Linked DNA regions of Homo sapiens: region 2 is linked to region 1. Evidence: promoter capture Hi-C in human tissues and cell types (Jung and others, 2019). All regions are on one chromosome and are shown on one strand. The core of a region is centred on a gene start or on the middle of the fragment in contact, and the rest is flanking DNA. Distances in the headings are between cores, read along the strand shown. Region 1 holds the start of PSMA1 (proteasome 20S subunit alpha 1). Region 2 has its middle 21 kb from the start of PDE3B.

The links. Contacts are between HindIII fragments. The study calls those that stand out against the background at their distance.
Region 2: a contact is called between a fragment that was not itself captured here and the fragment with the promoter of PSMA1 in region 1, in 2 of the 25 tissues and cell types used here (H1 embryonic stem cells and spleen).

What each region holds. Positions count from the first base shown.
Region 1 is chr11:14,515,435-14,522,013 of GRCh38, forward strand. PSMA1 (proteasome 20S subunit alpha 1) reads right to left here and starts at 4,952. Exons shown (of 10, transcript NM_002786.4): 1 at 4,863-4,952; 2 at 3,563-3,607; 3 at 2,446-2,547; 4 at 2,208-2,311. The coding sequence starts at 4,865. RefSeq lists enhancers at 4,745-5,359, 4,894-5,083. The HindIII fragment of the contact is 15,381 bases long and covers 1,987-6,579 here.
Region 2 is chr11:14,619,434-14,625,805 of GRCh38, forward strand. It overlaps a transcript of PSMA1 not described here. Among named protein-coding and RNA genes, the nearest start is that of PDE3B, 21 kb to the right of the region's middle. The HindIII fragment of the contact is 6,392 bases long and covers 1,083-6,372 here.

The DNA of each region.
Region 1 (6,579 bases), core at 3,702-6,201:
GGTTAAATAAAATGTTTGATAATATAATACATTTTCCATTTTGAAGAGTAGGTGGAAACCCTTAAGGCTGTCATTATATTGCTGACTTAGAGCAAGGGACTGGCTGAGTAAATTGAAATTCTTTTTTTTTTTTTTTAATACTGAGTTTCGCTCTTGTTGCCCAGGCTGGAGTGCAATGGCATGATCTCAGCTCACTGCAACCTCTGCCTCCTGGGTTCAAGCGATTCTCTTGCCTCAGCCTCCCAAGTAGCTGGGATTACAGGTGCCTGCCACCACGTTCAGCTAATTTTTTTATTTTTAGTAGAGACAGGGTTTCACCATGTTGGCCAGGCTGGTCTTGAACTCCGGACCTCAGGTGATCCACCCGCTTCAGCCTCCCAGAGTGCTGGGATTACAGGCATGAGACACCATGCTCAGCCTGAAATTCTTAAACCATAGCATTACTATTTACACTGTTTTTGCTGCTGCTGTTGTTTTAAGAATAGGGTCTCACTCGGCTAGGTGCTGTGGCTCACGCCTGTAATCCCAGCACTTTGGGAGGCCGAGGCAGGTGGATCACGAGGTCAGGAGCTCTAGACCAGCCTGGCCAATATGGTGAAACCTCGTCTCTACTAAAAATGCAAAAATTAGCCGGGTGTGGTGGCACATGCTTGTAGTCCCAGCTACTCGGGAGGCTGAGGCAGAAGAATTCCTTGAACTCTGGAGGCGGAGGTTGCAGTGAGCCGAGATCATACCACTGCACTCTAGCCTGGGCGACAGCGCGAGACTCCGTCTCAAAAAAAAAAAAAAGAATAGGGTCTCACTCTGTTGCCTACGCTAGAGTACAGTGGCACTATCATAGCTCACTGCAACCTTGAAATCCTAGGCTCAAGCAATCCTCCCACCTCAGCCTTTTGAGTAGCTAGGACAACAGGTGTGTGCCACCACACCCAGCTAAGTTTTAAAATTTTTTGTAGAGATGGGGATTCACTATGTTGCCCTGGTCTCAAATTCTTGACCTTAAGCTTCTCAAAGAGCTAGAATTATAGGTAGGAGCCACTGTGCCAGGCCCACCCTTATAATTTATATTCTTTCTTTCCTAATCAAATCACAAATTTACAAGATTAGTTTTAGCTAACTACCTGCCATCCACAACACACATACTCACATAATACCTGAAAGGCTCTGTGTTAGTGGTTTACAGTAGGCAATTTAAAATATTTAAAAATAGGCTGGGTGCAGTGGCTCACACCTATAATCCCAGCACTTTGGGAGGCTGAGGTGGGCAGATTACCTGAGGTCAGGAGTTCAAGACTAGCCTGGCCAACATGGCGAAACCCCGTCTCTACTAAAAATACAAAAATTAGCCAGGCGTGGTGGCGGGTGCCTGTAATCCCAGCTACTCGGGAGGCTGAGGCAGGAGAATCGCTTGAACCTGGGAGGTAGAGGTTGCAGTGAGCTGAGATCACACCACTGCACTCCAGCCTGGGTGAGAGTGAGACTCCATCTCAAAAAAATAAATAAATAACATTTAAAAATAGCCTTGATAAAGAAAACACTGGAAAAAATTCAGTGTTTAGGTATTTAGCCAAATCTCAGATACTAAGTGGTGAAGGTGAGAACTCAATATGTGCAATTTCAAAGCCCTATCTCTTCATTTATGTATTGCCTTTTAACCATAAATAATCTGTCTCTTCTAGACTCTCACAGAAATTTTTCTGTTATATTATAGATAAACTACATTTGAGTTTATAGATAAACTTGCCTTCAAGTTCCCTTAAGACAAGATCCATGTCTGAGTCACTTATGTATACCCTGCAGTATCCAGTATTGAGCATTGCAAAAAATAAATGTCTAATAAATACTGATGTATTGAAGAAAACAAGCACAAAGAAAACAAGTGTGGTTCAGCTTGTCCTTAGAAACCAGACAAAAGTATCACGTTCTTCTTAGACATAACAGGGTCTCAAACGATATACATTGTATTAACAAACATCACATTACTCAGTGACTTCTGAAAAGTGCTAATGTTTAATCTTATTAGTTACTCCTACAGGGATCAAAAAATGGAAAATTTAATAACAAACTCAAAACCACCAAGGTATTCATAATCTTAATTTACAAGAACTTTGGCAGACAACTTCCTAAAATACCTTATCTGGATCTTTTTGAGAAAACTAATCAATTATGAAACAAAAAGGATGTTTATTTTTCATGATTATACTTACCATAACAGTCTAGCATCAGCAGTAAGCCCCGCAATTGAGATACCAATATGGTTGTCAACATGGAGAATTTTTTTCTGATGAGCTGCAAGCTCTGATTGCGCCCTCTAAATAGAGACATTATAAGATGTAAAAAAAAAAAAAAAAGAGACAAATGTAAAAATAAGTTTACAACCTTATTTTCTATGGTGAAATTTACATTGTTTTCTACAGAGGAAGACATATTTATTACTGTACTTACTTTCAATGCAACCAAAACTGCATGAGTTTTTGATTTCAGACCAACTGTGGCTGAACCTTGTTTAACAGCTTCCATTGCATATTCAATTTGATGAATCCTGCCCTAAAGAAAAAAAAAACAAAAAACACACATCTTAGAAGATCTTTTATAAATTAAAAATTAGGGTTTTCAAATATCAGGTGAGCACAGTTAAATCTCAACTGATTTTTTTTTTAATCAAGAGACCTTTTTTTTTTTTTGAGACAGGTTCTCACTCTGTCACCCAGGCTGGAGTGCAGTGGCACAATCTTCAGCTCAGTACAACCTCTGCCTCCTAGGCTCAAGCAGTCCTCTCACCTCACTGTCCACAGTAGCTGGGACTATAGGCAAGCACCACCACGCCCAGCTAATTTTTGTATTTCTTGTAGAGTCCGGGTTTCATGTTGTTCAGGGTGGTCTTGAACTCCAAGACTCAAGCAATCTACCTTCCTTGGCCTCCCAAAGTGCTGGGATTACAGGCATGAGCCACTGCACCCGGCTGAAAGCTTCTTTTAAAATAAATTTTCTTGTGTATATTTAACGTATGCAACATGATGTTATAAGATACACATATATAGTAGGGTCACTATCGCAGAATGAACACATCCGTTGTCTCACATAGTTACCCATTTTCCTCTGCTGTGGCAAGGGCTATAAACTACTCATTTAACAAAAATCTTGAATACAAAACACTACCTGCATTATTAACTGTAGTCTTCATGTTGTACATTAGATCTTTCCACTTGCTCAACCTACATATTTGCTACTTTGTATCTCCTCTTTTTTCCTCCCCACTGCCACCCCCTACCCTGGTAACCACTGTTTTACTCTCTCTATATATATATTTGCCCTTTTAAACAAAAGATTCCACATATAAGTGAGAGCATGAAACATTTTTCTTTCTGTTTCTGGCTTATTTCACTTAACATAATGTCCTCTAGGTCCATCAGGAAACCTATTTTAATTATAAATGCAACTTCCAAGAACGTCTAAAATAATTATATTCCATTTTCCCCAAGCCTACGCTCTCACAAGTTTCTAAATATATTGCAGCCACAAAAAGCCACTTCACAGAAAAGGTTTAAAAACATTATTTTACCTGGGGGCTCCAAACAGTGACATCATTGTCATACTGATTTCGAAACTAAAAGTAAAAGAAAAAAATACCTGTTAATAGAAGAACATTTCAAATCCCAACTCTTAACATTCATTAAGAAATATGCTTGTATTTCCATTCAATGTTAAGGCACTCTGTTCATGCAGTCTTACTGGAAGATTACTACTGTACTCAGATGTAAGCCAATTCTACATTTACCATAAACTCGTGGGAGAGGGAGAAGCAGATCTAAATGGGTCCTATTTTTCCAAACTCTTATTCTAACACCCTCCATATCAACCCCTTTAGGCTCAATTACTAAAGTTCACAATCAACTTTCTTGCCTATTTTTGCTTATGCTGCTCCCTTTTATTGGGCCCTAATAAATGGTTAAAAGTCTTCCTTTTCTTTAAGGTAGCTTAAATGTCGATTTCTTGAAGTCTTCTCCTTTTCTTCCCAAATCCCCCTAACATATACTCCCACAGCTCTTTATCTAAACGTCCCTTTCTGTTTTTATGATTAGGGACATGTATGACTTATTTTTTAATGTTCACTGTAGTTATGCCTGTACAAGTGCTGTCTGTATATTCACATTGAATGAACAAAAATGTCCTCACAAAGTTAGAGGTGGACACAAATAGCTGCAGCGATAGAACCATTACGGCTATTACGACTATTATAATAATAGTCATGGGAGTGAGATTGAGTGCTAGAATGGCAGACAGAACTGGAAACCCAGAACCCTATATTGTAACCCTGATTCCATCACTTCCCCTCTCAGCCTCGGCTTACTCATCCGCAACTAGGTGACTGGACAAAATGATTGAAAAGGGCCTCTTCTAATCGAAGTCTAGGCGAGAGATAAATAGACGGACCCACCAGGAAAACGGACGCTGTCCAGGAACACAAACCTGGGGGTCAAGTCCGCACTGGTGGTACAGGTAGGCCTCCAAGTCAAGTCTCTGTCTTCTCCTCTCCCATACACAGCACTAGGAGCTATTCTGGACCGCTCAGAATCTACTCCACTGAAGGAACCTGAGGGGCGAACTCATCTAGCTGACCGAGGAGGAAGTGTCGGAGGCTCCCCGGGAAGCGAAAGCGGTGGAAAGGCCGCACTGGCTACCGATAACCCCTAGCCCGGCCAGGCCGGAGATGCTGAATCACTGCCGGAGCCCGGCCGTCTGCCGAGGCTCTCATACCTCGTGGCACCGGGCGACGCTAAGGATGACAGGAGAGGTGGCTCGTCATCCCCCAGTCACCAGAGCTCTGCCCTAAACCTTCCAGAGATCGGGATTCAACGTACCATGGTGGCGGCGCGGGCCTGGTTGCGGCCTCCAGCAAAACTGAGAATCAAGGAGGTGCTGCCGAAAGTATCGCTCAGCGATCTACAGAGAAGTCTGCGGGAGTTTGACGGCGGCGGCGCAGGGTAGCGCAGTCTATTCCAGAGATATCGATAGGCTTGCAACACTTCCCCCTCCTTAAAACTTTCCGACCGCTCGGCGGCGGGCGGAGCCTCGGAAGATCTAGGAACTGAGACTGGCGGGAAAACCTGGCTGGGAGTGCCGGCGGCTGAGAGCTGCGGGGCAGCCCCTGTCACGTAGCCCTTCTAGGTTCCTGTGTATGGCGGATTCCCTCCAGTTTCTCCCGCTGGCGGGCTGCATCTAAAGTCGTCCGAGTCAACAGCCGTGACTCTGGGTGATACTAGCTCTCATTAACCGTCCACAGATTTGGGGTGTTATGTGACTGAAAGGAACGAGGCTGCAGGAAAGCCACAAGATAACGATCCGTTTCTGTGTGTCAGCTGTATTCTTCCTCGAGTATCTTGTTTGTGTACATGCTTTTATTTGCATTAAGGTTGGTGCAAAAGTAACTGCGGTTTTTGCCATTTGGCAAAATACTTTGGAATGCTCTTCCTTATTCCCTGGAGATGTTATCTTTCAAGGGTCTGTTGTCGTTAACCCCTCATTGTTATTATGATTGATTTCTTCCACCAGACTTTGAACTCCATGAGGGCGCTAATGTCTTTCTATGCCCCCAAAACCAAGCATGGTACCTGACAGATTAGGCCACTGAGAAAAAATGGACACTTTCTTTCGATTTATCTATTTCGTCTTTTGAGAGCATCTTTCCATAACGAAATAGTCTGACATCCACCGGCTATTTATATTCTTTGTAAAAAAGAGACTGGGTGTGGTGGCTCACGCCTGTAATCCCAGCGCTATTGGAGGCCGAGGGCGGAGGATCGCTTGAACCCAGGAGTTTGAGATCACTATATTATTTTAATACAGTGGGACCTCGTCGCTACAATAATAATAAGAATAAGAATAAGAATAAGAATAATAAAAAAAAAAGGCTGGGCATGTTGGCATGGGCCTGTGGTCCCAGCCACTCGGGAAGCTGATGTGGGAGGATCTCTTGAGCCAGGGAGATCGAGGTTGCAGTGAGCCATGGTCGCGCCGTTGCACTCCAGCCCGCCTGGGCAATAGAGATTCTGTTTCAAAAAAAAAAAAAGCCGGGCGCGGTGGCTCACGCTTGTAATCCCAACACTTTGGAAGGCAGAGGCGGGTGGATCACGAGGTCAGGAGATCGGACCATCCTGGCCAACATGGTAAAACCCCGTCTCTACTAAAAATACAAAAATTAGCCGGGCGTGGTGGCGTGCCTCAGGAGGCTGAGGCAGGAGAATCGCTTGAACCCGGGAGGCGGAGGTTGCAGTGAGCTGAGATCGTGCCACTGCACTCCAGCCTGGGCGACAGAGTGCGACTCCATCTCAAAAAAAAAAAAACAAAAAACAAAGTACTAAATTGTTCTCCAGAAATGTTTTACCAACATATACTCTCAACAGTAGTATATGAGGTTACCTTCTCTAATTCATCAACACTGGTTATTGTCGTATTTCTGAAAAACACTGTTGATTTGGTGGACTAAATTAACAGATTAAATTAATAGATTGTTCTCTTTCGTTTCTCCAGGACCTAGCACAATGCGTAGCACATATTAAGTGTTTATAAATAGTGCTA
Region 2 (6,372 bases), core at 3,029-5,528, 100 kb after region 1:
GTCTCAAAAAAAAAATCTGTAATATAGATTTATACCACATAAAGAGCTAAAAGAATACACGAAGAGGAGAGGTTAATTCTGGCTTAAACCTAGGGTGACTCAGCTTCAAAGAAGAGGTAATTATAAAGAAAAACAAGTAAAAGCCTGAAGAAATTAAGATTAATTTAAATTCATTTAAGTGTTTTTTATATCATATAATAGATTGCTTTCCTTGAGTGTGTGGAGACAGTATAACAGGAGCAAGAGTTGTGATGTCTAACGGGCAAAATAGGGTGTCATAATTTCAAAGAGGTTAGAAATCACTCTCTTAGTACCCTCAAAGTTTAAACACTGGATTACTCAGACCTTGTTATGTGTAATTTCTAGGTGATGAGTACTGGGAAAAATTTGTGCCAAATCAGCATAACTAAAGGGCTTTAATAGCAATCACTTACTTATCTTTATTGTAATAATCATGATAAGGTGACTATATGGCATCAGAACCTAGATAAGTATTTCCCATTTCATAAGTTAGGGCATTTTAAGTTGTATTTTTTAAGGATATTGAGCAAACACTTTTAATTCTCGTGTACCTAACAGTAAGGACAACAGTGATTTGCTTTCTTCTTGGTTATAAACACTCGTGTGTGTGTGCGTGTGTGTGTGTGTGTATGTGTATGTGTATGTTTAAAGGATGTTTTGAGCATTATAACATACCCCAAAGCTCTACCTGAGTTCTTTTTAAAAAGACAATTACAACAGAAGAAGAACAAACAGGATTTCCTCTATAACTAATATTGACTTAACTTTATAGGGTCCTAAGCCTGAACTCCTCTGTTTATTCATGAAACAGATCCAGGCTATTGGTCCATTTGAATTTATTTCCAAACTTCACAGTTCAGACTGTACAGCCAGTTTAACTCTTGGCTTTTCAGGTGACTTCACTTGCAAGGGTTATAGAAAAGGCCACAGCAGTGTTGGGATGTTGCAAAAGAAACCCATGCCCTGGCCCATAGCCCAGTAGACTAGAGTCCCTCAGCAAAAGAGAGTTTCCACTGTTTATACTTGGGAATTATCCCTGGTTTAGCCTTTGTCTCAAACCATCTGGATGTTAAAAGTGCTAATAAGCAACTGACTTACTGGAGGAATAAATTCAATCTAGTGATTCTATTCTGGAAGGCTCTGTAAAGACAGAGATACTGGCAATAAAGCAGCAAAGCAATTTCCCAAGTTTTGAGGTCGTCTAGACCTAGTTGTGAGATATTGATAACAGAGTGGCCACTGGAAATTCTTCATAGTGGCTCAACTTTTTTTGTAGATGAAAGAATTCATGTTTAGATCTTGTCCAACAACCCACTTCCTAGCTTTCTTAAAAGTAGCAAGTGTGGATTCTTTCCTAGAGACCCTGAAATTATTTCACAGCTCTCATTGTGAAAATTGTTGGGAAAGTTTTATGAGACTTGGGGTTTCCTGAGAGTTATCAAGATCATTTTAAATTTGACCACAAAGCTAATGTCAGAGAATAGCAGCTTTAAGGCCTCTCAAATCACAGTATTATACAAGAAAAAATATTCTTTTTTCTTCTAATGAAGAGTAGGGGTGTGTATGTCCTGTTATTATACCTTTTCATTTTCCTGTATTAGCTGTTACATTGACCTATGTCAGAGATGAAAACTGTGAGTGTACTTTTAATTAATTTTTATATGGAAATAGTCATTTAGGTAATGGAAAACACCATTTTTGTGAAATGGCTAGTGGGCATAATTGCACTCATTCATTTTATTTCAAGATCATGTTTTGCTTTATTAGTAAAAAGCATTTGTCAAAAATTTTAACTTTGAGATTTTTCTGAAATTATCTTTCTTTTCTTTTCTTTTTTTTTTTAATTTGAGACCCCTCCGTCACCCAGCTGGAGTGCAGTAGCACCATCATAGCTCACTGCAGCCTCAACCTCTTGGGCTCAGCCTCCAGAGTAGCTGGGACTACAGGCATGCGCCACCACCCCCAGCTAATTTTCAATGTTTTGTTTTGTTTTTTTTGTAGAGATGGGGTCCCATTATGTTGCCCAGGCTGGTCTCAAACTGCTGGGCTTAAGCTGTCCTCCCACCTTGGCCTCCTAAAGAGCTGGGATTACAGGCATGAGCCACCACATTTGGCCCTCAAAATTATCCTAAATATAGCAATGCTAGTAATGAATTGGCACATAGTAACCACCTTTTTCTCTCCACTAGCTATGAAAGTGTCTGTTTCTATAAGTAATTCTTTCTTTCCAGCTTTACAATCAGTTTTCTTTTGAGTTTTCCTTGGAAACCTCACATTCTCAGAAAAATATTGCAGACTCTTTCACTTTAAAGGCCAACACATGTCTCTCATGTTTCATTTAAACTTATGGTCAAGGAGTTAGCTTAATGTCAATCTCTCTATCATATCTGATGGTTCTCTGCGGCCTGGAAAAATACAATTGATAAGATTTACTGAATGCTTTTTATGTGCCAGACACTATTGTAAACACTTTCCATTTAGTAACTCATTTAATCCTCATAACCCTATGAGCTAGGGTCATCAGCTAAATCAACCTGTTAGTAGGCATCTTCTTGAATGTCATACTGAATTTATTAATCCATTCATAAAATACATATAGAATACCTGCTAGGTCCTAGATGCTCTAGACAGAAAAGTATGTAAGACTGGGTACCTATGCAGACTTTCAGGAGTTCGGAGTCAAGCAATTAGTAGCCCCAATTGCAGTTGCTTTGCCGGACACTGTGTGATTAATAGAACAGATTAATGAGGTCTCAGGCACATGGTATGTGGCAACTGATATGATAAATACATTCTTTTCTATTCCAATTAGAAGAGAGGATCAGAAACAGTTCACATTCCTGTGGGTTAGATAATAATTTTCAATTACACTTTTGACTTAGAGCTATGTTAATGTTCCTGCCTTCTGTCATAATATACTCTGAAGAAATCTGGACTGCCTGAACATTCGTCTGATACATTACATTGATGACATTATGCTGATTGTTTAGAATGAGCAAGAAGGCACTAGTATGCTAAAGGCCTTGGTAAGACACAGTGTTCCAGAGGGTTGGAAATAAATCCTATGAAGATTCAGGGATTTGAAACTTCAATGAAGTGTTTTAGGAATGCAATGGTCATAAACATGACAAGATATCCCCTTCAAAGTAAAAGAAAATTGCTGCATCTTGCGTGTGCCACCACAAAGAAGGAAATGAAGTGGCTGGTAGGCCTCTTTGGGTTCTGGAGGCGGCGTATTCCAAACCTATGAATACTGCTAGATTGAGTGACATAGAAAGTTGCCAGCTTTGAGTGAAGAGGTCCAGGCTGCACTGCAAACAGAGCTGCCACTTGGGGCATACAATCCAGCACATCTCATGGTGTAGGTGACAGTGGTGGGAAAACATGCAGTGTCTTACGGCAAGTATCATTGGGAGAATAACAACATAGGGCCCTGGAATTCTGGGGCAAGGCTATGCCATTTGTAGCATAGAATTATATGTCTTTTGAGAAAAAGCTCTTGGTGAATTACTGGGACTGGTAGAGGCAGAGTGCTTCACCATGGGGCACAAAGTGACCATGGGTCTAGAACTGCACATTACAAGTTTGGTTCTGCTGGATATGTTAAATCACAAGGCTGTATAGGTCCAGCAGTAGTCTACTTTAATATGGAAAATTACATCAAGGATTGAGCCTGAGAAGGACAAAGGACATGGCAAATTGCATGCGCAGGTAGCTCAGACCAGCATGTCATTCACAACAGCTGAAATAACACCCTTCCCTAGCTTGTTCCTATGGCCATATGGGGGCCCCGTAAGACCAACTGAAGTAGAAGGAAAGCTTAAGCTTGATTTTTGGGTGGGTCTGTTCTGTATGTGAGTACAAGCTCAAAATGGACCATGGCTGCATTACAACCACATTCAAGGATAGCCTTGAAAGACAGTGGAGAGGGAAAATCTTCCCAGTGCGTGGATCTGTAAAAAGTGCACCTAGTCATTGACTTCTTGTGGAATGAGAAGTGGCCCAGTATATATAGACTTGGGAAATAGCCAATGTCCTGGCTGTCTGGTCGGGGCCTGGAAAGAAAATAATTGAAAGATTTTAGAGAAGGAGTTCTGGGGTAGAGGTATGCAGGTAAACATGAAGAGTTTAGTGTGACATATTATGGCCCAATAGAAAGCATCTACCATGGAAGAGATTGTGAACAGTGAAGCAGATATAATAACCAGACCAGTTTATATAAGCCAGTCTTTGTTGTTGGCTACCCTGAAACTGACATTTTGGCATAAGAAAAAAGTGGCCATGCTGCCAGAGACAGGCTATGCATGGGCCCAGGAGCATGGACCTCCCATCACCAAAGCTGACCTAGCTTCTGCTGCTTCTGAATGTCCAACCTGTCAGCAACAGAGATCAATGCTGTTATATCACTATTTATTAATGAGACCAACTGGCCACTTGGTGGTAAGTCAACTACAAGGGCTAGAGGGTTGTTTTCACCTATTCTGGGTACAGGCTTGTCTTTCCTGATTGTAGTACCTTAGCCAGCACCATAATCCAGGGGCTTAAAGAATGTCTGATCTATGGGTATAGAATACCACACAAAAAACATTTGAACAGGTGACCCATTTCACAGTAAAGGAGATGCAGGATTGAACTCATGACCATGGGAGCTCTAGCTATATCTTCTACAACAAAATCATTTAGAAGTAGCCAACTTCACAGAACACTGGAACAGCTATCTAAAGGCACAGCTGAAACGTCAGCTCAGAAGCAACACTCTCAAAGGAGGCAGTGCCATCCTTTGCAGAGAGAAGCTCAGGATTATTCTTCTTCCTTTAGCTGGTCGTATGGGAACCCTTTCCTCTAGCCCCATTTTAGCCAAAGGTACCAACTGGGAAAGGGATGCTGTTGCAACTGTGGTAGATGACATGGGGATCTGAGCTAACTCAGAGACCTCTATATGGTACCATGTCATCAGCAGGAGGAACACAATGGCCATCGATGGGTGTAATCAGGACTAGCCCTATCTACCATCACTCCCAATAACTCTCAATGGGGGATTTTGGGCTCCCCATATGTGCAACTCTGGGCTCTGCAGGGCTGGAGGTCCCGAGAGGGAGTGCACTCTTGCCAGGGGACAGTGAGTGTCTCATTGAACTATATGTTATAGATACTGCCAGGGCAGTTTGGACACCTCATGTCCAGAGACCTGCAGGCAAGAATAGGGTCACATCTTGGCAGGGGTAATCAACCCTGATCATTGGGAGAAGGTAGTGCTGCTTATAGACAATAAGGATAGGAATATGTATGCAACTCCTATGTCATCTACTTGGAAGCCTGCTGGTACTCCTTTGGCCCACTGTAGCTGTGAAAGGACATGTACAACGACCCTGACTTGAAAAGGGTATGACTGCCAAGAGCTCAGACCCATCAGGAATGAAGGTTTGGGTCACACCACAAGGTAAGCTACCATTACTTGCCAAGGTGATAGCTGAGGGTTGAGAGGACTTGGAATGGATAATAGAGGTGGGAGAAGTTAAGTACCTTGTTGCAGTCTCAAGCCCAACTGCAGCAATGGGGCTCCAGTTCATCTCACTAACTTCCTTCTAAGTTTTCCCTCAGGAAGAAAAGCCCATAGGAAACATGGAGGATGTGTTCCCTAAATTTGCATAGAGAAGCAGATCTGTCCAGAGAAAGAGGTGGACTGTGGCAATCAAGAAAATTTGTCATTCAGCCTGGGTGTGGTAACTCATGCCTGTAATCCCAGCATTTTGGAAGGCCAAGGCAGGCAGATCACCTGAAGTCAGGAGTTTGAGACCAGTCTGGCCAACATGGTGAAACCCTATCTCTACCAAAAATACAAAATTAGCTGGGTTTGGTGGTGTGTGCTTGTAATCCTAGCTACTTGGGAGGCTGAGGTAGGAGAATCACTTGAACCCGGGAGGCAAAGTTTGCAGTGAGCTGAGATTGTGCCACTGCACTCCAGCCTGGGCAAAAAGAGTGAAACTCCATCTCAAAAAAGAAAATTTGTCACTCAAATCTTCTGCTATAGGGAACATAATTGACTACTGGACCATTACTCTTCTGGATCCACCCCTGTTTCAGTACTGAGGCAATACTTCTTTTGGGCTTCTCCTAGTCAGTAACAGCAAGGGTATAATGTAGGCCCATTCCTGTGAGATGAGGGACTCCTTTTAATAGGAGACTTTGGCTTGAGGACCTCACATTGGCCTGGTTGACACTTTCTTAGAATGATGCTGTAGTATAAGGCTCTTTCTACCTAATCCTCCTTCCTTTCCCCACTTTCCCTATTGTGAGACTTGCATCACAGTCTGAAGGCTCTCTCCACTTCCTCTGGCTATCTTCCATTTA